Linked DNA regions of Homo sapiens: region 2 is linked to region 1. Evidence: promoter capture Hi-C in 16 types of primary human blood cells and fetal thymus (Javierre and others, 2016). All regions are on one chromosome and are shown on one strand. The core of a region is centred on a gene start or on the middle of the fragment in contact, and the rest is flanking DNA. Distances in the headings are between cores, read along the strand shown.

Region 1 (7,033 bases), core at 4,417-6,916:
GGTGGGAGGATCACTTGAGCCCAGGCTGCAATGAGCTATGATCGTGTCACTGCACTCCAGCCTGAGTGACAGAGAGATCTTATCGCTAAGAAAAGTTATCATTATTTTTTGAGACAGAGTCTCGCTCTGTCGCCCAGGCTGGAGTGCAGTGGCACGATCTCAGCCTACTGCAACCTCCTCCTCCCAGGTTCAAGCGATTCTCCTGCCTCAGCCTCCCGAGTAGCTGGGATTACAGGCATGTGCCACCATGCCCAGCTAATTTTTGTATTTTTAGTAGAGATGGGGTTTCACTATGTTGCCCAGGCTGGTCTCAAACTCCTGACCTCAAGTGATCCACCCGCCTTGGCCTCCCAAAGTGCTGGGATTATAGACGTGAGCCACTGCGCCCGGCCTAAAAAAAGTTTTTAATAAAAACAAAAATAAGGCTGGGTGCGGTGGCTCACGCCTGTAATCCCAGCACTTTGGGAGGCCGAGGCAGGCCGATCACCTGAGGTCAGGAGTTCGAGACCAGCCTGACTAACGTGATGAAACCTAGTCTCTACTAAAAATAAAAATATTATCCAGGCATGGTGGTGGGCACCTGTAATCCCAGCTACTTGGGAAGCTGAGGTAGGAGAATCGCTTGAACCTGGGGGGCGGAGGTTGCAGTGAGCTGAGATCACGCCTCTGCACTCCAGCCTGGGCAACAGAGCGAGACTCTGTCTCAAAATTAAAATTTTAAAAAAAAAGTAAATAAATGGAGCCCCTTGGCTCCGTTAGGGCACTTGGGCTTTACAAGGCACTCTTCCCTCGATTCTGTCCTCTGTGATTTTTTCCCTACTGAAGGTTAAGAAACCGAGGGTCAGAGAAGACGAGTGACTGGCCCAGGATGACGCGGCTATGAGGTTGTCAAGCAGGGATTTAAATTCCCATCTTCTGATTTCACATCCAGGCATCCTCCCTCCTACCCCCAGGCCACAGCTCTGGGGCATGTCCAGCTGCTCCTGTGATCATCCTCAGCAGAGCATGTCTCACCCTCCGTCCTGGAGGGGTGGGGCCTGGGTCTTGTTTCTTTTCTGACTCTTCCTTGATCTCTCTGGGTCTCCATAGCCTCCCTTACTAAATGTAGGATAATATTAACACCTGCCAAAGAAGACCTTCTAAGCTTCTGCTATGGCTTGAATATTTGTCCCCTCCAAAACTCATGTTGAAACTTAATCCCCAATGTGGTAATATTGAGAGGTGGGGCCTCTAAGCAGTGATTGGGTTATGAGGGCTATGCCTCATGAATGGATTAATATACTCATGGATTAATAGATTAATGGTTTAATGGATTAATGAGTGATCATGGGAGTAGGACTAGAGGCTTTTTTTTTTTTTTTTTTTTTTTGAGACAGGGTTTTGCTCTGTTGCCCAGGCTGGAGTGCAGTGGCACAATCTCAGCTTACTGCAACCTCTGCCTCCTGGGCCCAAACAGTCCTCCCACCTCAGCCCACCGAGTAGCTGGGACTACAAGCCTGCACCGCTATGCCTGGCTAATTTTTGTATTTTTTGTAGAGTTGGGGTTTCACTATGTTGCCCAGTCTGGTCTCAAACTCCTGAGCCTAAGAGATCTGCCCACCTCCGCCTCCCACAGTGCTGGGATTACAGGTGTGAGCCATTGTGCCTGACCGGACCAGTGGTTTTATAGGAAGAGGAAGGGACACCTGAACTAGCACCTCAGCCCCACTGCCATGTGATGCTCTGAGCCCCCTCGGGACTCTGCAGAGAATCACCAACAAGGTTCTTACCAGATGCACCCCCTTGACCTTGGGCTTCCAGGTTCAGGTATTCCATTATAAGCAACAGAAAATAGACTAAGCTCCCTAGGAACTCTCAGGTGAATTTCTCTGTTTTACTAGTTGCAACAACAACAAAAACAGCCATTTGGGGAGGGCTGACTCTGCCAAACACCTTGCTAAGTGCTTTAGATTCATTGTCCCATTGAAGCCTCAGAAGAATCCCAGGAGCTTGAGACCTCATAAAGAATAAATTATTAATAAATTAGATCATACCTTCCCATTTTGCAGATGAGATTTTTTAAATGCTCAGAGAGGTTAAGAAACTTGTCCAAAGTCACAGAGTAACCGAAACAAGACTTGAACCCCAACCCTAAGTGCTCACTCACCATACCAAACTCCCTAATATATGTATCCTATAACTGAGTCTCTGGTTTGGGGGTTTACATTTACAGGGAGCCATGTCAGTCCTGGAGGGCGTCTCCACCCCCACTCCCTGACTTCCAAGCTACACTGACCAGGGCAATCCTATTCTTAGGCCCCACGAACCCCAGAGAGGCCAGCCTGTTCAGCCCGAGTCTTTGGGCCTTCTCCATGAGGTACCCTCCCCTCCCCAAGAGACCTGACTCTGGGCAGGAAATGGACCCACTGCCCCCACTCCCCTCCCCCATTTCCCATTGTCCTCCTTCCTGAGAAGCTGGTGGAATTCAGAACTTTGACCCTTCCCTGTGGCCACAGCAGTGACTCAGGCTTTATGAGGGGCAGAGATGAAAGAGACTGAAGCCCCGGGAAGCCTGACCTGACTCCAGGACTGCTGGTGGCTATGACAGTGTCAGGGACAGGGTCCAAGGGGGACTGGAAGGTGGAGGGGTTAGGTAGAGCCCTGGTCATTTTCCCAGGCCAGGGCTTCCTGAGAGCAGTACACAGCCAGACACCAAAGGCTCTGGATTTTAGCCTCTCACTGAGGCCCCAGCCCACTCCCCTGTCCCCATTAGGGAGCTCCCTTTTTCCTCATGCAACCCCTGCCCTCCTCGCTGGGACTCTGCCCAAATGAAGTTTGACGCCCTCGCTGAGCACCTCCTAAGCCCCTGTCCACCTGCCTTCCACTCTCCGAGCTTCCTTGTCTCTGATGGTGCTTATAGTAAGTGGCAAAGCTTGAGCTCTAACTCATTCATTCATTCATTCAATTACTCACTCATTCAGTGCTAATTGTATCAAGGGATGTGCTAGGCCTTGGCTAGACTCAACCAGAACCAGAGCCAACTTTCTCATGAAAGGTGGCATATTAAGAAGCCAGGGGCCAAGGAATTAGACATAAAAACAGGGACATTTGGAAAGCGCCATAGGCATCAGGAAAGCGACAGGAGAGCAATGTTAAAGGAGGCGGCCGATCATGAGATCAGATATTGTCGATGACCTCCTACCAATCAGAATTTAACGTCTTTCTCAACCAGCCCAACCCCTGGACAACACCCCTGATAGCCAGTCATTCCACAAGCATGTGGTCATTGGCTTCTGCCTGCATACCTCCAGGGACAGGGAGGTCACCACTCGACAGTTCACCTGCCCCGTCCCTGAACAGTCATGAGTGCTAGAATGTCCTTCAGACTCTGCTGGAATGTGCCTGCCTATAGATGCCCCCTTTTGTCCTTGCTCTGAAGACATACCCCAATACAATGACCCAGGATGCCTCTCCTGGGCCAGCAGAAGGGGCCATTCCCAGAGCCCTTTCTTCTGCAGGGCCCCAGACCAGAAGTGGATTTGTTGGCAGCGTGACCTGTGACCTCCAAACAAGGCGTGTGGAGCTGGGAAGGGAGAGGCTGAGGAGGGGGCGGGGGGAGTGTGGGAAAGAGCCTTGTCTAACCCAACAAGTCCTGGATTCTCCCCACTTACCTGTGAGTCACCCCCAAACTAGGCCAAACCAGTCCACAGGCCCACATGCAGGCAAACACATGCTGTGTCACACAGACGCAGGCACAGACACACAGACAGATACCGACACAGACCCACAATCACACAGGCACAAAGATACACCTAGAAGCCTATAAAAACATACACAACCAGGGACACACACACAAATATACACTCACCCAAGAAATACAAACACGCACAGGCACTCAGAGCCACAACAGACACACAAATCACATACAGACAGAAACACAGGCACAGTGACACACACGTGCACACATTCACAATACACACACAGTCAATTCACAGCCCCAAGCTCTCTTCCCCTTGAAATTCACCTACCCCTGAACGTGGACACACACGCTTGGATGCACACGTATCTTACACATTCCCACTGGCAGTCCCAGCTATGTCTCACTTCTTCTCGACTCCCATATTTGCCAATCTTGGCCCAGAGAACCTTCTCCCAGGAAGGGGACATAGAAGGATGATGTTTCTGGAGGTCACCTGCCCCCCACTCTAAGTGAGCCCTAGCCTCCCACCTGAGTCTGTCATTATCCACCTGGGCCCAAAATACCCAGGTAGTGGCAGATAGAAACCACCTCCCCCCAGCTAACCCTACTTCTCTTTCCCGTCCCCCTCTCCAAGGTAGCCTCCTCCACCCCCCTTCCCTCTCTCTGCAGCCCTTGTCCCCCAGCCCCTGACTTCTGGGGCATCCAAGCAGGTCTCAGAGCCAGCCTGGGTCCTACATCTCCCTCTTCCTTGGCACGGAAGCAGTCACATTGACCCCTGCTTGGAGGACCCCAGCATTCCTGATTCTGCCTCTGCTACTACAATGCTGCCCAATCCACCGCCATAGGAGCCTAGAAAACCCTGGAGCCCACACAGCAACCTCACTCAACCCTCCACTCTCTGCACAGGGCCAAAGAGGTTTCTTCCAGGCAGGATGGAGCAGTGGTTAGAGCACAGGCACTGGAGTTATAGAAACCTAAGTTCAGATTCTAGCCCCTTCACTTTCTAGTTGACTTTGAGCAAGTGACTTTCAGAGCCTCCTAGAATTAGGTGACAGGGGTTGGGATCAGTCCCTACTCATGGGATGGTTGGGAAGATTAAATAAAATTATGCTTAGAAAACAAATTGCAAATGACAGCCACCCCATCATCCTTAAGCACCCTTCAAAACCCCACCCCAGGCTCATTTCCTCTTCAGGGTCATCCCTGGGAGGTTCCATGTTCATCCCTCCTTGATGAGCTTTGGGGGACATATCCTTCCACCTCTGCGCCCCCCAGGCAGATTTAGGAGAGTCATTTCAACACAAATAAAACTAGGCTTGGGAAACTCGACACCCACTCCTTTGGCTTCCAGCTCAGAGCCAGGTGGGGTAATTATTGCTGTCACTGAGACGTAATTAATAAGCATCCCTGCTATTTTGGCACCCCCAGTCTCTGGAGTTCAAAGTATATTCCTGTAGCCACCTCCTCCTTCCTCATTTTCAGCTACCAAATCCTCTCAACAACTCAAGGCCCAGAGAGGTTAAGCAACTCGCCTCAGGACACCCAGCACCTAGGCTGGGTGCCAATTCCCAGGCTGAGTCTGTGGCCTCCTGAACAGAACTGGGGAGTGGTGTATGCTGTGAAGAAGGCAACCCCCCTTCCTGCCCATCCTCTCCCTGACAGACTTTCCCCTTTCTCAGATGGACAGTGGGGGTGAGAAGCAGTGGGTTCCAGGAGGTAGCCTGTGGGCAAAGGGAGGGAGAGGAAGGCAGGGTTGGAGCAGGGAGGGAAGGCAGAGTCGGCTCAGGGTCCTGAATGAATGGGCCTAGAGCTGGAGAGGCCCAGGGAATAGGCAAAGTCTCAAGACAGGGCAGCCAGGCCAGTCTCCCCTCCCATCTCCACACACAGACCGACCTCTACTCACAGTCTGCGTGGGGACCCAGGTGTCCAGCCAGCCTGGAGCTCCTGCTGCTGGGCCGTGCTCCCCTGATGCGATTGGGCTCTCAGCTGGGGTTCCTGAGGCGGGGCCGTCCGGCACCCTGTGATGGGGCGTGGCCCCTGGGGAGGCTCCCACCAGCCCTCAGATTCCTCAGGGCCGCAGAGGTGTGGAGCTGGTTGGGCCGGTTCTTCACCCTCCTCCCCTGGTGCTTGCCTGTGCCCCAGCAGGGTGACAGTGATGTAGTAGCGGGTCCTCCTGGAAGAGGGACGCGTGTGTAGGGTCTGGGCAGGCTCTGGCAAGGCAGTCCCTGGGGTGGCGGGCTTGCCCTTTGTCCCCTCTGCCCTGGGGAAGGATGCAGGGTGGAGCAGCAGGGGTGCGTCTTCCAGGTTGCTGGGTGGCTCAGGCCTCAGAGGGACCTCTGAAGCTGTGGGTGGAGACTGCTGACAGGTGCAGCCTGAGGATCCCTGCTCCCCATGTCCAGGAGCAGGCCCTGGGTATTGGGGGAGCCTGGTACGAGCAGACTCTCCTGAGGCCACTTCCAGGGCCAGGCTCTCAGGCCCCAGGGAGGCATGGCTGGCCAGGTCGAAGGCGCTGCCCACCGCTGGCCTCTGTAGGCGCCCCAGGGACTGAGCAGGACCCCCCGAGATTCCTTGTTGCTTCCAAATCCAGAAATCATCATGGTCCCCTACATGGATGTCCCATTCTGAGCAGCTCTGGCCTTGGGCCTGGGTGAAAACAGAGATAGACACTGAGAGAGGCAGGGGCATAGTGACAGCTCCCCCTGCCCTCCAGGCACCCCTGGTACCTGGTATCTTCCCTGTCACAAGGAAGCTGAACAGGGCTCTGACACCAAGGTAAGCTGCCCTAGGGAGAGGCTGCTAAGGCCACCAGAGCTGGACAAAGGGACAGAGCTCTGGGAAGGCCCTTCAGCATTTAACTCACCCCTTCCCATTCTACGTAAGAGGAAAGTGGGGCCCAAAGAAGACGGCGACATGACTGAGATCACACAGCAAGCCAGCGAGGGCTCCCAACGCTCAGGTGCCGCACTCCCTCCCAGGTGACAAGGCACCCAGGGCCTGGCCGGCCATGCCCCCCAAAGGCTGGAGATCTCAGCTTCCTTGCAGTCCTGAGGTGCTTCCCCGCCCTGGGGCTGAGGGCTGGGTGGGAAGGCCTGCCTCAAGTGCCCATGGCCTCTGCCCATTCCAAGCTAACAGAGAGACTGCGGCCACCTCTCTTGTACCCTCCCAGCTTGAGACAGAACACCTGGGAGGATGTACCTGGGATATAAGGGAGCCAGAGAAGAGGGTTCCCCTGAAATGGGACAACACCTGACCTCTTCTGCTGTCTTCCCCTGGGGTCCAGCCTGGCTGTGGGGATAAGAGGAGAGGGCTCAGCACCCCAGACCCAGATGGACACTGCCCCCAAAACGACCCGTT
Region 2 (7,066 bases), core at 115-2,614, 100 kb before region 1:
GTAATCCCAGCACTTTGGGAGGCCGAGACAGGTGAATCACTTGAGGTTAGGAATTCAAGACCAGCCTGGCCAACATGGTGAAACCCCGTCTACTAAAAATACAAAAATTAGCCAGGCATGGTGGCGGGCTCCTGTAATCCCAGCTACTCGAGAGGCTGAGGCAGAAGAGTCGCTTGAACCCAGGAGGCAGAGGTTGCGGTGAGCCAAGATCGTGCCACTGCACTCCAGCCTGGACAACAGAGTGAGTGAGACCCCATCTCAAAAAAGAAAAAATTGGGCCGGGGGCAGTGGCTCACACCTGTAATCCCAGCACTTTGGGAGGCCGAGGCGGGCGGATCACCTGAGGTTGGGAGTTCAAGACCAGCCTGACCAGCATGGAGAAGCCCTGTCTCTACTAAAAATACAAAATTAGCCGGGCGTGGTGGAGCATGCCTTTAATCCCAGCTACTTGGGAGGCTGAGGCAGGAGAATCGCTTGAACCCAGGAGGAGGAGGTTGTGGTGAGCCAAGATCGCGCCATTGCACTCCAGCCTGGGCAACAAGAGTGAAATTCCGGCTCCAAAAAATAAAACAAAAAATTGTATTGCTTACTAGTCTTTGAAGTCTTTATCACTAGCAGTCTGCCTTAACCTTGTGTACTAGTCCTATATTTAAGTTGTGAGACATCAGAAACTGGGTCCTTTAACTGAGAAATTTCTTTCTTGGTCCTGAGAGACTAATGCATGTTATCAGAACTTATTCAGGTTTTTGTTTTGTTACGTGTGTGTGTGTTTTTTTAGTGTGGCCTTTTATATATCCCCAAGATCATCTTCAGTATAGCAAATTAGATACTATGCATGTAATATAAGGCTTGCACGTCTTTTTTTAAAGTATTTATTCCTCCTGTCTAACCGAAATGTTTTACCCTTTGATCAGCATCTCTCGATTCCCCCTGCTCCCAGCTTCTGGTAACCACAATTATTCTCTCTGTTTCTATGTGTCGAGGTTTTTTTTAGCTTCCACATATAAGTAAGAACGTGCAGTATTTGTCATTTTGTGCCTGGCTTATTTCTCTTAGTGTCCTCCAGTTTCATCCATGTTGTTGCAAGTGACACAATTGACATCTTTTATAAGGCTGGTATTCCGTTGTGTAATATACTGCATTTTCCTTATCTGTTCGTCTGTTGATTCTATAACTTGGCTATTGTGAATAATTACTCAGTAAACATGGGATTGTAGATATCTCTTGGACATACATATTTCATATCGTTTGGATATATACCCAGAAGTGGATTGCTGGATCATATGGTAACTATTTTTAGTTTTTTGAGGAGCTACATACTCCATTGTTTTCCACAGTGGCTGTGTTACATTCCCCCCAACTGTGTACTAGAGTTCCCTTTTCTCTGCATCCTCTCCAAACTTGTTATCTTTCATCTTTTTTTTTTTTTTTTTGAGATGGAGTCTCACTCTGTCGCCCAGGCTGGAGTGCAGTAGTGCGATCCTGGCTCATTGCAACCTCCACCTCCTGGGTTCAAGCGATCCTCCTGCCTCAGCCTCCCGAATAGCTGGGACTACAGGCGCGTGCCACCATACCTGGCTAATATTTTGTATTTTTAGTAGAGACAGGGTTTCACCGTGTTAGCCAGGATGGTTTCGATCTCCTGACCTCATGATCCCCCCTCCTCAGCCTCCCAAAGTGCTGGGGATTACAGGCATGAGCCACTGCGCCCGGCCTCATCTTTTTCATCATAGCCATTCTGACAGGTGTGAGGTGGCTTGCCCATATTTTTAAAGAGTTGCTTAAGGCCGGGCATGGTGGCTCACACCTGTAATCCTAGCACTTTGGGAGGCTGAGGCAGGTGGATCACTTGAGCCCATGAGTTCGAGACCAGTCTGGGCAACATGGCGAAACCCCATCTCTCCTAAAAATACAAAAACTGAGGTGGGAAGATCACCTGAGCCTGGGGAGGTCGAGGCTGCAGTGAACTGTGATCACGCCACTGTGCTCCAGCCTGGGTGACAGAGTGAGACCCCATTTCAAAAAAAAAAGTTGTTTAATGAGAAGGTCGTAGCTGATCTATACTTACATAATTCTGGGAACAATTATAGTATTTGTTGTTGTTATCTGAGTGTTCTCTGTGTTGGTTGCTGGGGAGAAAAAGAAACAAGTTGGTAGTCGCTCTTCTCCGTGGTAGATATGCTTGATTTGGGAACGAGTACTGAATATAGTTGAAAAGAGAAGAAATTGGTATTCCTTATTTCCTTATTCAGTTTTCTGCCTGCTGAAAGCAATAAGTATGTTACCTCACATTCCTCCCTTATTGTTTGCTTGCAGTAGTCCCCCTCAGAGTAGTACTTGAAAGTTGGAAATAGGTAGAAATGTGAACCTTGTATAGTAGGGCTAATCAAGGGTTGTCTCCCAAGACCAGGCAGGAGCCAAAGGAAACACAAATTCAGTCTGAAGGAAAAGTTAAAAAAAAAAAAACACAGTTGGGTACACACAAGGGGGCAAGTGAAAGGCAAAATATAAAATAGAGGATTTCAGTGTGTACCCAATTGAGAGTGCTCACTGTGCTAGAGTGAAACCTGAGAGTTACTAAGAATAACTTCACATATCCAGGCAGTCAGGTTTGGGGTATGGGAGAGAGAACAGAATCCTGCCTCAGATGCCATACTCCCTGTCCTGCATACTGAGCAAGACTGTCTAGTTCGCTTCATTCTTCAGATAGTTTGGACTCGTTGCTCACCTTCCTGGGGGAGCTTTTGGAGGTCGCAGAAGATTCTGGTGACTCTTGGAAAGGATATTTTTATTAGATTTGATTATAGCTGAGAGTTGTCCAGCTTCCAGAAGAGTAGGACCTAACTCATTTTCCTTAAGTAAGTAATTTGTTTTAAAGTTTAAATTTTTTAAAAAACTTTTTAAAAGTTTTTCAGCTTTGTCTGTTGACTGACAAGATTTTTTTTATTCCAGTACAAAGGACTAAGTTAAAAGTGAAGTCATTATTGCCTTTTGTTAGTTTACCTTGTGAATGGCATTTGAGATCCTGGAACATACATCTCCCAGTTTGGTTGCCGTTTCTTTCTGCCTGATACTTTTGATGATGGTGCTCTCTCTGCTTGGTCTCAGGACAGGCCGAGAGCTTCTGGCATAGCATTCAAACTCAAGAAAGCTTGCTACTTCAATTTTTACTTATGGAAGACTATTCTCTCCCCAGATTTTTGCAGCTCAAGTGGCAGTCCTCCTTTCCAGCCCATCAAAAGCCACGTAACCATTCCAACAGCCCATGTGATGCCTTCTACTTTAGGGACCTCTCCTGCCAAGCCAAATTCTACACCTGTTGGACCCTCTTCCTCTAAACTCCCTTTGTCAGGGTTGGCTGAAAGTGTGGGAATGACAAGAAATGGAGACCTCGGTGCAATGAAACATTCTCCAGGCCTATCTAGAGATCTCATGTATTTCTCTGGTGCTACTGGAGAAAATGGAATTGAGCAGTCCTGGTTTCCAGCAGTGGGCCATGAAAGACAAGAAGAGGCGAGGAAGTTTGATATTCCTAGCATGGAATCTACCCTCAATCAGTCGGCAATGATGGAGACACTTTATTCAGATCCTCACCACCGAGTCCGCTTCCACAACCCAAGAACCAGCACAAGTAAGGAGTTGTACAGAGTGTTGCCTGAGGCCAAGAAGGCACCGGGCAGCGGGGCAGTGTTTGAGCGGAATGGACCACATTCTAATAGCAGTGGGGTCCTCCCTTTGGGACTCCAGCCTGCTCCCGGGCTCTCCAAGCCTCTGCCCTCTCAGGTGTGGCAGCCGAGTCCTGACACTTGGCATCCCCGAGAGCAATCTTGTGAACTCAGCACTTGTCGGCAGCAGCTGGAATTGATTCGTTTACAGATGGAGCAAATGCAGGTAGAGGTCTATCTTTCCTTGGATTTTCTAGGTTCTGTACAGTTCTTAGAATTGTAATAGCTTTTGTCCTTTGAATTTTGGCTTAAAGAAAATAGCTGTAAAAAGAAGGAAGATGTTTGTAGACAGGAAATACAGGCTTGTGAGCTGTTGGCCATTGAATCTGTTTGGTAGTCAAATTAAGCACCAGATAGGGTCTCCAAAATAGCAAAAGGTTACAAAGGAAAACCTAAAAACGTATTTATACGTCACTAGGCTAAGTACTTTCACATACAGCATTTTATTTAATCTTCATAGTGTACTAACGAGGTAGATGTAGAAACTTACCAGGTTCTTAGACTACATAATCTGTACGGGGTCATAGAGTTGGTAATTGGCAGAGCTGGGGTTTAAAAACCATCTTTGAGGCCAGGTGGCTCACGCCTATAATCCCAGCATTTTGGGAGGCCGAGGCGGGCAGGAGTTCGAGACCAGCCTGGCCAGCAGAGTGAAACCCTGCCTCTACTAAAAATATAAAAATTAGCCAGGTGTGGTGGCATGCGCCTGTAGTCCCAACTACTCAGGAGGCTGTGGCAGGAGAATTGCTTGAACCTGGGAGGCGGAGGTTGCAGTGAGCCGAGACTGCGCCATTGCACTCCAGTCTGGATGACAGAGCGAGGCTCTGTCTCAAAAAATAAATAAATAAATGTGAAAACCTTCTTTGAGCCCCTGTGTTCTCTCTACCACTTTTGTATTTTCTTTTTTTTTTTTTTTTGAGATGGAGTCTTGCTCTGTTGCCCAGGCTGGAGTGCAGTGGCGTGTTCTCGGCTCACTGCAACCTCTACCTCCCAAGGTCAAGTGATTCTCCTGCCTTAACCTCCCGAGTAGCTGGGACTACAGGTGCGTGCCAACACGCCCAGCTCTTTTTTGTATTATTAGTAGAAACAGGGTTTCACCATGCTGGCCCGCCTAGTCTCGAACTCCTGACCTTGTGATCCGCCCGCCTCAGCCTCCGAAAGTGCTGGGATTACAGGGGTGAGTTACTGTGCCTGCCTGTATTTTCCTTTTTTTGTTTTGTTTTGTTTTGGTGTGTGTGTGTGTGTGTGTGTGTGTGTTTTGGAGACAGAGTCTTGCTCTGTCGCCCAGTGGCATGATCTTGGCTCACTGCAACCTCCACCTCTCAGGTTCAAGCAATTTTCCTGCCTCAGCCTCCTGAGTAGCTAGGACCACAGGCGCATGCCACCACGCCTGGCTAATTTTTTGTATTTTTTATTAGAGACGGGTTTTCACCCTGTTGCCCATGCTGGTTTAGAACTCCTGAGCTTGGGCAATCTGCCCACCTTGGCCTTCCAAAGTGCTGGGATTACAGGCGTGAGCCACCGCACCCAGCATATTTTCTTTTAAAAAATCCTTGTGCTGCTGAAGAGTGGGAAGGAAGGGAGCAGACATATTCCCCTTCCTTGGTTGGTGAGGACATCCTAGCTCCTGGTTTGCCTCTGTTGCTAGATAATAAAAGATAACTGACCTTTTCTTAGAAACTAGAGCCTTTTTGAACAGGGAGTGTTCAGTTGGCAGAAGCCTTCCTGGCAGGTTCTTTCCAGTCATGCCTCAGAGCTAAAATTATTTCATAAACATTGGGCCTCATCAGGCTGAGCCAAGTTGGGCTTTGACTACAGACCCAGCTGATTACTGCTCAGGTGTTTTCAGGCGTGTATGGGTCAAGATCAAGCTCATCTGGGCCTACTTGCCTTTCAGCTTCAGAATGGAGCCATCTGCCACCATCCTGCTGCTTTTGGTCCTTCACTGCCCATCTTAGAGCCAGCACAGTGGATCAGCATCTTGAACAGTAATGAACACCTTCTGAAGGAAAAAGAGCTTCTCATTGACAAGTAAGAGGGCAAGGGGTACCACAGAGCCAGACTACTCTCCCAGGCCCCATTGAAGACACCTAATGGAGTCTTCCCAAGGGCAAAGCATTCCTCCTCTGTTTAGGTCCATGTCTTGCCTCATGGTGGAGGTAGTTTGATAAGCAGCCTAGTCGTGTATATATAACTAATATAATAGACCAGTTATGTATTTCTTTAGGGGCTCTAGGGAGTGCCTAAGGGGGTAGCCAGTTCATTGCTTCTGATCTTTTCCTCATTTCCCCAGTTATCTTTCTCATTTGTTCTTCTTCCTTCAGAAAATAGTGATATCCAGAATCTAAGATCTTGCTTACGTAATAGGGATTGTACTTAGTAGGGGCTCATATTGTGAGGGGTTAGCATCAGGACCCTGACCTGATTCTACCGGCTTGTGCAGGCAGAGGAAACACATCTCTCAGCTGGAGCAGAAAGTGCGAGAGAGCGAACTGCAAGTCCACAGTGCCCTCTTGGGCCGCCCTGCCCCCTTTGGTGATGTCTGCTTGCTGAGGCTACAGGTAAGTATTGGCCATCAGGATGGCATTCTGTTTGTCATAACTCGGTGTCTTCCCTATGCTTGACACCATTAGGTATCCAGGAGATAGAAAAGAGCTCAAGTGATGTAAGTGTCCCTGCCCTCAAAGAGGGCATACTAATTATAAAGCACCCTTTATCATGCCCTTGTGGGAGCAGAAAAGGCTAAGAACCAGGTGAAAGTCCAGATGCCTGGGTGTGAAGACATACTTGGAAGAAAGGTAGATAGTAAGGTCCTAGAGTTGGGTGATGTTATGAGAAGTCTTAATTTTCTAGCCCTAGCCAAAGGAGAGAGAGGCAAAGGTAATGCAGGATTTAGAGCTATTCTCTCTCTTTTTTTTTTTTTCCCCTGCTCTGTCACCCAGGCTGGAGTGCAGTGGCACAATCTCGGCTCACTGCAACCTCCGCCTCCCGGGTTCAAGCAATTCTCCTGCCTCAGCCTCCCAAGTAGCTAGGATTACAGGTGCCTGCCACCATGCCTGGCTAATTTTTATATTTTTAGTAGAGACGGGGTTTCATCATGTTGGCCAGGCTGGTCTCGAACTCCTGACCTCGTGATCCGCCTACCTCGGCTTCCCAAAGTGCTGGGATTACAGGCGGGAGTCACTGCACCCGGGCATTCTCATTTTTATCCTCCATATCTAGGAGCAGCTGAAGAAGATAATATTCTCACTGAGATCAATGGTTGTGGGGCTTTAGAGTTTGAAAAGAAGCCTGCTTTGTTGACCAAGCTTCTGCAATTTGGGCATTTGAATGTTGGATAT

The links. The method cuts DNA at HindIII sites, captures the fragments that hold promoters and counts their contacts. A CHiCAGO score of 5 or more calls a contact.
Region 2: a fragment that was not itself captured here is called in contact with the fragment with the promoter of CRYBG2 in region 1 in 1 of 17 cell types (naive B cells); the score reaches 5.1 in naive B cells.

What each region holds. Positions count from the first base shown.
Region 1 is chr1:26,348,464-26,355,496 of GRCh38, forward strand. CRYBG2 (crystallin beta-gamma domain containing 2) reads right to left here and starts at 5,667. Exons shown (of 20, transcript NM_001039775.4): 1 at 5,573-5,667. RefSeq lists an enhancer at 906-1,752 and a silencer at 2,968-3,166. The HindIII fragment of the contact is 7,544 bases long and covers 2,910-7,033 here.
Region 2 is chr1:26,251,975-26,259,040 of GRCh38, forward strand. It overlaps CEP85 (centrosomal protein 85), which reads left to right. Exons shown (of 14, transcript NM_001319944.2): 4 at 3,197-3,891; 5 at 5,623-5,756; 6 at 6,169-6,286. Among named protein-coding and RNA genes, the nearest start is that of CEP85, 21 kb to the left of the region's middle. RefSeq lists a silencer at 5,350-5,550. The HindIII fragment of the contact is 3,570 bases long and covers 1-3,149 here.